Linked DNA regions of Homo sapiens: region 2 is linked to region 1. The links are contacts of gene promoters, found by promoter capture Hi-C in blood cells and fetal thymus (Javierre and others, 2016). All regions are on one chromosome and are shown on one strand. Each heading gives the region's core, a stretch centred on a gene start or on the middle of the fragment in contact. The rest is flanking DNA. Distances are from core to core; before and after follow the strand shown. Region 1 holds the start of RAPGEFL1 (Rap guanine nucleotide exchange factor like 1). Region 2 overlaps WIPF2 (WAS/WASL interacting protein family member 2).

Evidence for each region. The method cuts DNA at HindIII sites, captures the fragments that hold promoters and counts their contacts. A CHiCAGO score of 5 or more calls a contact.
Region 2: a contact is called between a fragment that was not itself captured here and the fragment with the promoter of RAPGEFL1 in region 1, in 1 of 17 cell types (erythroblasts). The highest score is 5.3, in erythroblasts.

What each region holds. Positions count from the first base shown.
Region 1 is chr17:40,173,392-40,179,486 of GRCh38, reverse strand. It overlaps RAPGEFL1 (Rap guanine nucleotide exchange factor like 1), which reads right to left and starts at 2,017. Exons shown (of 15, transcript NM_016339.6): 1 at 1,106-2,017. The coding sequence starts at 1,625. RefSeq lists enhancers at 34-888, 889-1,745, 2,137-2,637, 2,638-3,138 and a silencer at 1,976-2,105. The HindIII fragment of the contact is 3,169 bases long and covers 1-3,099 here.
Region 2 is chr17:40,262,592-40,268,887 of GRCh38, reverse strand. WIPF2 (WAS/WASL interacting protein family member 2) reads right to left here. Exons shown (of 8, transcript NM_133264.5): 4 at 6,247-6,296; 5 at 3,742-4,398. Among named protein-coding and RNA genes, the nearest start is that of CDC6, 22 kb to the left of the region's middle. The HindIII fragment of the contact is 2,914 bases long and covers 3,366-6,279 here.

The DNA of each region.
Region 1 (6,095 bases), core at 768-3,267:
GCACTTTGGGAGGCCGTGGGGTGGGGGTGGGGGGAGGTAGATAACGAGGTCAGGAGTTCAAGACCAGCCTGACCAAGTTGGTGAAACCCCGAAACCCCGTCTCTACTAAAACTACAAAAATTAGCCAGGCCAGTGGCTCACGCCTGTAATCCCAGCACTTTGGGAGGCCAAGGCAGGTGGATCACGAGGTCAGGAGTTCGAGACCATCCTGGCTAACACGGTGAAACCCCTGTCTCTACTAAAAATACAAAAATTAGCCAGGCGTGGTGCCACATGCCTGTAGTCCCAGCTACTCAGGAGGCTGAGGCAGGAGAATCGCTTGAACCTGGGCGGTGGAGGTTGCAGTGAGCTGAGATGGCGCCACTGCACTCCAGCCTGGGTGACAGTGAGACTACATCTCCAAAAGAAAAAAAAAAAAAAGCCGGGTGCTGAGGCCTGCCACCGAAGGGTGGAAGCTGGAGGCGCTTGGACACCCTGGATGCTGCAGGGCCATGATGCCGGCCCAGCCACCTCTCCCCTCCCAGACACCTTCTGAGTCCAGCCCAAGGAGAATACTATCCCCCCCACCAAACTGCTAAGGACAACGCATCCCTTTGCTGATGCCTAAAAGGCAGCTTGGGGCCTGTGCCTGTCTGGCACTGCCTCCCTGGGTGGGTCAGCCTGCGCTGTGTAGGCCTCTGAACAGTCAGGGACCCCAGGGTTTTCAGGGCTAAAGCACCTCTGGCGGGTGGCATGGCTGCGCTGGGCAGCTCCCATTTTAATGTGTCAGGCCCTAATTTGGGGCCACAGGAGGAGGTATTCAACATCAGGGACCCATGGGAGTCAGTGGCTCCAATGCCCAGGGGAAAGGAAGGGTGGCTGAAGGAGAGTAAGAGGCTCAGCTGCTTCTCCAGACGAGGGTGAGGCTGCTGTAGGGAGGAAGGTGAGTACTGCTCTCCTCTTCCGCGGGAGGGTCTGTACCTCCGCTAGGCCCCTAGCCGGCTTCCGCGGACCACTCAACCCTATAACCAAGCCCCGGCACGGCGCCACCCCTACGCTCCAAGGGCAAGGAAGAGGAGCCGGGGCCAGCCCCTGCTCTGGGTGTTCGAGCCCACCGGCTCCTTACCTGAGGCGGCGCTGTCCCTGGTAGCCCCTCCAGCAAGCCGCTCCAGAACCCGGTTCAGAAGATGCTCGGGCCGCTCGGGGGCGCCCAGAGGGGCCCAGGGCGGCGAAGTCAAGGGCTCGCCTGGGGACAGCTCGTCAGATGAGTAGGAGGAAGGGGAGCGCAGGGGCCCCCCTCCCCCGAGAGGCCCGGGCCCCGGCACCTCCTCCAGCTGCAGCCAGCAGGGCCCCCCGCTGCCCGGCTCCTCCGCGACCCCCGCCGGCTCTCCTCCTTCCTCCTCAGGGGGCGGCTCCAGCCCCGGCTCGGCGGGGGGCTCCCGGAGGAAAGCGGGGAGCAGCAGGCGAGACACGCTCTGACGCCGCTGCAACGACCGCTGTCCCCCGGCTGGACCGCCGCCCCCGCCGGGTCCCCCACCCCCTCCAGGCCCACCGCAGCTCCCCAGACCCCCGCCGGGACCTCCCGCCACCGTTCGGCCCGCCAGCTGCGACGTCTGCTTCTTCAGAAATTTCTCCAGCGGCTTCATGCCCCCCCCCGCCCCTCTCCTAGGGGTCGCCGGGGGACCCAGGTATCCCAGGCGCGGGCGGGGGGGGCGGCGAAGACACGATGCTCAGAGCTGGAGGAGCAGAGTAGAGGGCCGTGCCAGGCGCCAGACTGGGGGCCAGAGGGGCCGAGCCTCGCTGGCCAGAGTCCAGTGGCCAGTAGCCGGGGGAGGTGCCAGAGGAAAGGAGTGCTCGCTCTCAGCAACCCCCCATGCCGGCTGCAGCCGGCACGCGGCCCGAAGAGTGGGCAGGCTGCGGGGCCGGTGCGCCCGGCTCTGCGCTGCGGCGGCAGAGGCAGCGGGCGGAGCGCAAGGCTGAGAGGACGCGGCGGCGGCGGCGGCGGCGGCTGCGCTCCTGGCCGTGAAGAGGGGGAAGGTGGCAGAACCGAGACCGCGCCCCCTCCTCCAGTCCCCGCCCAGTCCCCGCCCCTACCCTTCCTCGGCTCGCCCCCGCGCCGCACGAGGCTTGAACTCGCGCGCTGGGGTTGACCGCGAGGGAAACAGTAAGGGACTTGGGTTCTAAGCAGAAGAAATTAAGGGCAAAGGTAAGTCAGAGATTTACCAATGGGGAAGGATTCCTGGCTCAAGGGATAACCGGGTCTCAGCATCATTTCAAAGAGTCAGGACAGGTCTGTGGCCTGGACACCTTCACTCACCTACCTGTGTACCCAAGTCAGGCCTACAGATTGCTGAACCCAAGAGTGTGCACCTTTCTCATACTCACAGAAATATGTGGAGTTTATCTTCCTTCTGTGAGAAGAGCTGGGAAGGCCTCTTGGGTGAATTAGCATTGCCACTGGAGGCGGTGCCCATCTGTCCTCTCTGGTAGGGCACAATAGGTGGTGTGGGCCTGGTCTGTGGGCAGGTACTGGCAGGCAGGTAGGAGCCAGGCAGGGAGCAGCAGGTTGTGGCAGGTCTAGCTGGGGTGAGGAGGGGATAATAGGCAGTGGGGAGGAGACCAGGAGCACAAGGGCACCTGAGCCCAGCTGGCAGCAGAAGGAAGCAGGGCCATGGAGACAGGTGACAAGCCCCAGAACTGCCGACTATCATCAAGCACAGAGCCCAAGTGTACATGGCCATGGAGTGGGAAAAGTGGTGCCAATTAGCACTCCAAGTAATCCTTACTCCTGATGCCCACACCAGGAGCATTCTGTCCTTAAGGATATGCTGCCCCAGAAGGAGTGTGGGGGAGGAGGGGGGTGCATCGTAAAGCCATGCTAAGTGTGAGAACATCCAGGTTAGACTTACAAGGTGTGGGAGTGGCAGCAGGTTCTCGATGGGTTGAGGCTCTCTGGACAATGCCCCACCCCTGTTTACCGAGCACCAACCAGGCAGAGACAGGAATGCTAATGGCTGGGAGTGGTAGTAAAACTGAACAGGGTGTGTATGACATACGTATCAATGTATGTGCATATCTGTTCCCATGTGTGCTAGAGCATGTGTTCACAGAAATAAAGCTTTGCACACCCATCTGTTTGTGGATTTGGAAACAGTAAAAAGAAGACAGCGCACAATTTTGGCTAAGAAGCTGTATTAGAGGTCTGAGTATCAGCTTCCTGTGCTCCCCTTATTGGACACTCCAATATCCCCTGGCTTGAAAGGGGAAAGTGGCTGGAATGGGTTGGAGCTCCCCAGGTAGCATTTTATGAACTGAATAGGAAGAGGGAAGGGCTTCTCTCCCAGCACATGCCACAGTTACCAGATTAAGCCGGTTGCCTTGGTAACCTTCTCTCTGGGCAGGATTTGGGAATTGTTGGTTAGGAAGGGCGAATTGGGGAGTGTGAAGGGTGTAGGGGGTTGAAAATAAAACAGACTGAGAGACTTCTGGAAGCTAGAAGCTTGGGACACAGGACCCCAGTACTCCCCCAAATGCTCAAGGATGTCAGGCAGAGACTAAGTTCAACATTTTGAATCAGTGAGGAGAGCCAGCATCAAGTCATGGTCCTCCTGGAGTGGCAGTGGTTTTCACCCTGACTACACACTGGAATCACAGGGAAGCTTCTCAGAAATACTGATGCTGGCTGGGCTTGGTGGCTCACGCCTGTAATCTCAACACTTTGGGAAGCCAAGGCGGGCAGATCACTTGAGGTCATGAGTTCAAGACCAGCCTGACCAACATGGTGAAACCCCACTTCTAAAAATACAAAAAAAATTAGCCGGGCATGGTGGCACACACCTGTAATCCAAGCTACTTTGGAGGCTGAGGTAGAAGGATTGCTTGAACCTGGGAGGTGAAGGTTGCAGTGAGCTGTTATCATGCCACTGCACTCCAGCCTGGGTGAGAGACTCCATATTAAAAAAAAAAAAAAAATACTGGCCAAGTGCAACAGCTCACGCCTATAATCCCGGTACTTTGGGAGGCCGAGAAGGGTGCAACATGAGGTCAGAAGTTCGAGACCAGTCTGGCCAACATAGTGAAACCCTGTCTCTACTAAAAATACAAACATTTGCTGGGCATGGTGGCTGGTGCCTGTAATCTCAGCTACTCAGGAGGCTGAGGCAGGAGAATCGCTTGAACCCGGGAGGTGGAGGCTGCAGTGAGCCGAGATCATGCCACTGCACTCCAGCCTGGGCAACAAGAGCAAGACTGTCTCAAAAAAAAAAAAAACAAACAAACAAAAAAAAAACTGATGCCTAGGCCATATCTCAGACCAATTAAATCAGATTTCTGAACCAGGGCGAAGGCTTATGGTATTTTTTAAAAAGCTCCTCACATGACACAAATGGCCAGGATTGAAAATCACTGCCCTAGACGGACAGTCAACCCAAGTGGGCTGCAGATGCTGGGAGCTGACTTTGGAATTCCAAGTCTTTGGTGCTCCGAGTTGCCTACAAGGTAGCAGGTCTGTGCGCTGACCCTGAAGGGGAAGAGAGCTGGCAGAGCATTTGCACCCGCTTATGGAAGAAATAAAGAGGAAGGCAGGGTGGTATGAATAACAACTATGAGATGGGGGCGAAAAAGCTTTGAGCTTTTTTTGAGCCCATGGGCTTCTACAAGGGGACTGGGCAGGGCCACCTCAGGCTATCTGTCTGCTGCTTACACACCCTCTTCTTTCTGCCCACCCAGAGGCAGGCTGGGAGGATAGAGAGAACCTGGGGGCTTTGCTGAGCTTGAGTTTCTTCTTGCAGAGCTGGTTACCAGGGCAACAGAGAGAGCAATAGGGTCTAACTGAAGGACTAGGGAAGCAAGAGGCAAGGGTAAAGGGGAAGCATCCAACACTCAAACCTCCTGCCAGTAACCCACCCCCAAGGCTGGATGGCATTTTTTCATAACCCCAGGAGATCAGGCCTACAGTCACCCATCACATTGTGGGGAAGAGAAGCAAACTGACATGATTTAAAGAGGAATTAGGGGCCCAGCGTGGTGGCTCACGCCTGTAATCCCAGAACTTTGGGAGGCCAAGCTGAGCCAATCACCTGAGGCCAGGAATTTGAGACCAGCCTGGCCAACATGGTGAAACCCCATCTCTACTAAAAATACAGAAAAAAAGTAGTGGGGCATGGTGGCGGGCGCCTGTAAACCCCAGCTACTTGGGAGGCTGAGGCAGGAGAATCGCTTAAACCCGGGAGGTGGAGGTTGTGGTGAGCCGAGATCGTGCCACTGCACTCCAGCCTGGGCGACAGAGTGAGACTCAGTCTAAAAAAAAAAAAGGAATTAGGGACGGGGCTCAGAAAAGTCACAGTCCTCTGGCTGTGGCACCAGCACCAAGATATGGGGGAAGTCCCATCTGTCTTTATAAGATGTACAATAGTTGGGCACAGCAGCTCAAGCCTGTAATCCCAGCACTTTGGGAAGCCCAGACAGCGGGATCACTTGAGCCCAGGAATTCAATGACCCTATCTCTACAAAAATAAATTAGCTAGGTGTGGTGGTGCATGCTTGTGGTTTCAGCTACTTGAGAGGCTGAGGTGGGTGGATTGATTGAGCCCAGGTGGTCAAAGCTGCAGTGAGCCACGATTGTGCCATTGCACTCCAGCCTGGGCAATAGAGCAAGACCAAAAAAAAAAAAAAAAAAAAAAAAAAGATGTACTATGATATCTATGCCTCCCGTGTATGGATTTGTGAAACCCAACAAATGCTGCCAGCTCCATATGAAAGTTGCTCTCCCATACCAGAGATAGCTTCTGTAGTAAACTTCCATCCCACCCAGGACCTAGAGGAAAAAGTCACTTCAAAGGTAGGAACTGCCCTCTAAGCATCAAAGGCCAAGTGGACTAGGTAAACTGAATTATGACCCACAGTTGATTTGTTTTTTGAAATCATGTGTCCAGGCAGGTTATGTTATCTGTCCATTTCACTTTGGGATATTAGTGTTGCAAAATATTTGTTATAAGAAAGGAACATTGGGGCTGGGTGTAGTGGCTTGCACATGTAATCCCAGCACTCTAGGAGGCTAAGACAGGAGGATCATTTGAACCAAGGCGTTCCAGACTAGCCTGGGTAACACACTGAGA
Region 2 (6,296 bases), core at 3,573-6,072, 87 kb before region 1:
AAATGTACATTTTACAGGTGAGAAAAGAGAATCGGTGAGAAAAGAGAATCAGTGATCTGTCCAATGTCACACAACAAATCGAGGCAATACTCAAATGATCTCTGACTAAAATATCTCAATTTTTTTCTGGTTTATCACTCTTAAGAATTGCTGCTCTAGCCAGGTACAATTGCTCACATCTGTAATCCCAGGGCTTCGGGAGGCCAAGGTGGGAGGATGGCTTGAGCCCAAGAGTTTGAGTCCAGCCTGGGCAACACAGACCTCATCTTAAAAAATAAAAATAAAAAAAAATTTTAATGAGCCAGACATGGTGGCAACACTCCTGTAGTCCTAGCTACCACAGAGAAAGAATGGAAAAGTGGGAAGCAAGAAAGCCTGCAGACATTTAAAAGTGCTCAGCTCAACCCACGGAAATTGCATTTTTCTCTTCTTCTATTCCTGGATGAGGTCAGAAAGATATGAGCTTTGCTCAGACAAAGAGTCTTTTGTAAAATCCCTAAGTTAAAAAAAAAGTCAAACCTGAACTTTATAGAATCAAGGGCCACCTTAGCACTACCTCATTATGGCTAAAGCTAGGGAGATATGGGATCAGGAATGCAGTAGGCCACTGTTTGGCTGCCCTATGTTAGATGGCCAGCTGCTAGAGTACAAATCTGTATGTACTGAACAAAGAAGCTGCACACAGGTTAATGGACTTTTAATGCCTTGCTACTTAATGATATAACCTTTACCCTTTTTTTGGGACAACGTCTTGCTGTGTTGCCCAGGCTGAAGTGCAGTGGCACTAATACAGCTCACTGCAGCCTCCACCTCCCAGGCTCAAGTGGTCTTCCCACCTCAGCCACTCAAGTAGCTGGGACTACAGGCATGCACCGCCATGCCAGGCTAATTTTTTAAAATTATTTTTTGTAGAGACAGGGTTTTGCCATGTTGCCCAGGCTGGTCTCGAACTCCTGGGCTTAAATGATCTGCTGGCCTCAACCTTCCAAAGTGCTGGGATTAAGGCGTGAGCCATCATGCCCAGACTCCATGACATAACTCCTTAATCAATGTTCTATACCTGTAGAAACTGACTTTAAAATAAAAGCTAAGGGCTGGGCGCAGTGGCTCACTTGAGGTCAGGAGTTTGAGACCAGCCTGGCCAACACGGCGAAAACCCGTTTCTACTAAAAATACAAAAATTAGCCAGATATGGTGGCACATGCCTGTAATTCCAGCTAGTCAGGAGGCTGAGACACAACAATCACTTGAACCTGGGAGGAAGAGGTTGCAATGAGCAGAGATTGCACCACTGCACTCCAGCCTGGGCGAAAGAGCAAGGCTCTGTCTCAAAACACAAACAAACAAATAAATAAATAAAGGCCAAGAAGCTGTTTGTGGAGGGTATGTCTCAAAGTCTAATGATACAACGATATGGGAGCCAAAATTCCCATGTCCAATAAGGCCCCAGAGAGCTGTCACGGTCTCCCTCACTCTAAAATTTCAGTTATGCTAATTATAACGAGATTACACAACCTCTTCTTTTTCCAGGGTTCCTAAATTCCCTCCTCACCCAGCTTAGGCTCCATTATTGCAATCACTCCCTCACATACACCCTTCCCTTCCTGCCCCACTCTCCCTTAGAGTCGCACATGCCTAAAACATGCTAACGCTGGTTAAACACAGCTCTACTCTTTTTCTGTACCTGCAAATCACAACTGAACACATGAGACTAATTAATCTCACATGAAATGTATGGCCCATAATCTCAAGTGGGCCCTTCGCGTGGTTGCCTATCTGAGCACACTTCCCTAGTCCACCCACACTCCCACGCTCCAGATGACCATTTCATGCCTCTTCTCTCTCCTCAACTCTCCTTCTCCTTCCCTCGCCTCAATCACAGCTGATGCTCTTGCTTTCCATTTCACTGAGAAAACAGAAGCAAATTAGAATAAACTTTCCACATGCTTCTACCACTACACCCACCTACCCACTTGCTTCTAAGCCTATATGCTCTGCCTCCCCTCTTGTTACTATGGAAGAACTATGTTCCTATCTAAGGCCAACCCTTTTTATCTATCGATCACATTCTCTTTTCTCTGGCCTCCTCCAGGTCATTATTCAGGCAATCTGTTCCCTCTCTTCTGATTCAATTTTTTCCCTCTCTCCTAAGTTTCATGCTACTCATTCCATCAGCATACAAATAGGTCTCCCATCTTGGGATGGGAAAAAAACAACTCTCAACCCCACATCTTCGTCCAACAATCACTTCACTTATCTTCACCCCTCTCTCCTGGACTTTACAGCGAACTCTTTAAGAGATTTCTATATTGCTATCTCCAATTTCTCTCCTCCTATTCCTGCATTCTTGAACCCACTCCAATTAAGCTTTCACTTTCACCCTCCACCACTCCACTGAAACTACTCAAAAGGGTCCCATGATACTAAGACCAATGCCAGTTCTTGGTCTTTAACTTACCTGACCCATCTGCAGCACTGGGCACAGCTGACCACTTACTCTACCTTGGAGTTTTTCCATCACATTCTTGGTTTTTCTCCTTCCATCCTCACTAGAAGCTTTTCTGTTTCCTCTGCTGGGTATTCTTCATCTCTTTTGCCTCTAATGTAGGAGGGCGAGGGCTCAGCCCTCATTTTTTTTTTTTTTTTTTTTGAGATGGACTGTCACTCTGTCGCCCAGGCTGGAGTGCAGTGGCGTGATCTCGGCTCACTGCAACCTCTGCCTCCTGAGTTCAAGCGATTCTCCTGCCTCAGCCTCCTAGGCCTCTTCTTATCTATATTCACTCCTTAGGTGACTTCATCCAGCATGTGGTTTTCAACACCATTCAAATGTATCTCTCTAGCCGAAACCTCTCCCCTCAACTTTGGAGTCTGATAGCCAATTACCAATTCATTGTCTCTTCTTGATTACCTAACAGGCATCTCAAACTTGTCTCAAACTGAACACCTATCTTCCCACAAATTCACAGTAGTCCTAACCATCTGGCCGTTTACTGCAACAGCCCAGTAACTGGTCTCCTTTTGTCACCTTTGTCCTCCTGCGGTCTGTTCTCAACATAGGAGTTAATGATCTTTTTAAAAGGTGAATCAAATCATACTACTTCTCTGTTTAAAACCCTCCAGTGGCTTCCCATCTCACACAGTTAAATCCAAGGTCTTTGCAAAATCCTGCAGTGCGCTCTCCCCTGCAGCTCCAGCTTTCCAACCTCCAAGTCCTACCACTCTTCCCTCCCCTCACTCTTTGTAGTCTTGCCACAATGGCCCCCTTGCTGTCCCCAAAATGTTTCAAGAATACTTCTGCCTTATGGCCTCTGCATTTGTTGTTCCCACTGCCTGCAACAGCTGTTCTCCTAGATAACTACTAAGCTTACTCGTCACTTTCTTAAGGTCTTTGTCAAATTTTCACCGTATCAGTAAGGACTGTCCTGACTCTCTCCCCACTCCTCCAATTAAAGATATCATCATCCCGACCTCCGCCCCAGTATATCTTATTCCTCTCCTCTGCTTTGTAATTCTCTAAAGCATACTGCATACTATGTATTTATATATTTTACTAGTTTGACTGTCAAATTTTTTTGTCTTTTCTATTTATTGCTATTTCCCTACCAACAGACCTGACACATAAAAAGGTACTCAATAAACCCACTGAGTGAATAAACGAATTACTGTCTTCAAGGAGTGCTCTGGGGAAAGATAAAATCAACTCACAGCATGATAGGGAAAAAGGTGCTTCCAAGCACTTACCTGCTCCCCGACTGGGAGGGTCTCGGGCTGGGGGAGGTGGCCTATTACTCAGTAAAGATGGGGAGGCCGAGGTGGGTGGAGGAGGTGCTAGGCCTCTGACAGGCCCTGGTGTCTTCCTATGCAAAGAATTGTGTCTCTGTGGCAGCTCAGGGGCTGACTCATTAGTGGGGCTAGAGGGTCCATTGGGGACCCCAGGAGGCTGGCGGTAAGGCGGAGGAGGAGGAGCCAGAGACTGGCCACTTGGTCCTGTTCTGATATTCACAGGGGAAGGAGGTGGTTTGACTGGGGGTGGAGCAGGAGGTCCCTCTCGACCAGGGTGAAGCCTTTGTCCAGGCGTCGGTGGCAAGGGTTTCTCTCTGTTGTAGGCGGGGGCTTTGCTGCTGTGCATAGGCAGAGGTGTGGGGGGTGCGTTGGCACGCCGCCCTGGGGGTGGTGGGGGAGGGGCAGAGGAGCTGTGCTTCATGCCCGTACTGCTGGTGGTATTAGGCCGAGAGAGGTCCGGTAAAGAGGGTCTCTGCATCCGGGGCAGTTCTGGGAGTGAGGCCCGGCTGCTGTCTGTATCATCCTGAGGACGCCCGCTGGCGGCAGATACTGGAGGCCTTGGGGCAGCAGCTCGAGAACTGGGGATTTGCAGGGCTGGCTTACCAGCTAGGTTCTCTACAAATACATAGACAACACAGGGTCAACAGAGCTGGACAGATATTGGTCAGTATCCCTACTTCACTCGGCTCCTTAGTGCAACCTGCATGGCAGCAGGGAAAGGAATTGAATAATTCTGGGTTTTTTGTTTTTCTTTTTTTTTTTTTTTTTTTTTTTTTTTGAGACGAAGTTTCGCTGTTGTTGCCTAGGCTGGAGTGCAATGGTGCAATCTCAGCTCACTGCAACCTCTGGGTTCAAGTGATTCTCCTGCCTCAGCCTCCCGAGTAGCTGGGATTACAGGTGTGCGCCACCACACCTGGCTGATTTTTGTATTTTTAGTAGAGATGGGGTTTCACCACGTTGGACAGGCTGGTCTCGAAATCCCAACCTCAGGTGATCTGCCCACCTCGGCTTCCCAAAGTGATGGGATTACAGGCGTGAGCCACCACGTCCGGCCTAGTTCTGGGTTTTAATACGGTTTCAGGCTCAGGATACACTGTTATTTATTTTAAATGTTACTTTATTTTTGACAAGTAATAATTTTATGTATTTATGGGGTACAATGTCTCGTTATATGTATACGTTGTGGAATGATTAAATCAAACTAACATATCCATCACCTCACATATTTTTTTTAATGGTGAAAACACTTAAAATCTACTCTACAACAGGCGCAGTGGCTCATGCCTGTAATCCCAGCACTTTGGGAGGCCAAGGTGGACAGATCACTTGAGGTCAGAAGTTTGAGACCAGCCTGGCCAACATGGTGAAACCCCGTCTCTACTAAAACTACAAAAATTAGCCAGGTGTGGTGGCCTGTGCCTGTAATCCCAGCTACTTGGGAGGCTGAGGCAGGAGAATGGCTTGAACCCAGGAGGCGGAAGTTGCAGTGAGCCAAGATGGCACCACTGCACTCCAGCCTGGGCGACAGAGCAAGACTCCATTTGCGGGGGGGGGGGGGACGAATAAATAAAATAAAATAAAATAAAATATACTCTTTTAGCAATTTTGAAATATACATTAAGTATAATAAGGGGTCGCCAACCCCTGGGGCCATGCACCTGTACAGGTCAGTGGCCTGTTAGGAACAGGGCACACAGAAGGTGAGCGAGCAAGCATTACTGCCTGAGCAACGCCTACTGTCAGACCAGCAGCAGCATTAGATTCTCATAGGAGGGCGAACCCCATTGTGAACCGTGCATGTGAGGGATCTAGGTTGCATGCCCCTTATGAGACTCTAACTAATGCCTGATGATCTAAGGTGGAACAGTTTCATCCTGAAACCATCCCCCGCCCACCATCTATGGAAAAATTGTCTTCCATGAAACCAGTCCCTGGTGCCAAAAAAACTGGGGACTGCTGCAATAGATCACTAAAACTTACCCCTCCTGTCTAACTGAAACTTTGTACCCTTTGACCAACATCTCCCCTTTCCCAATCCCAACGCCTACTGCCCCCAGCCTCTAGTAACCAACATTTCACTCTCTACTTCTACGAGTGAGTTCAACTGTTTCAGATCCCACATATAAATGAGATCATGCAGTATTTGTGTTTTTGTGCCTGGCTTATTTCACTTAGTATAATGTCCTCCAAGTTCATCCATATTATCAGAAATGACAGAAGTTTCCTTCTTGCCTAAGGCTGAATAGTATTCTAGGGTATATATGCCACATTTTCTTTATCCAAGTTGCATCCACTTTCATTTAATCCCTCAGCTTTTGCTGTATTCTATTCTATAACTCCTCCCCTACTCCCAAGTCTTTCTTCCCCCCACCTCTACCATACTCCTCAACCTGAGATGGCCCACTTGGGACATCAGAAATTAACACACCAGGGAAATACCCTGGGAAAGTACTCATCAGATACCTGAACCATCCTTGGCTCCCACAGGTCGAAGCTTCAGCACTCCTCCTTGG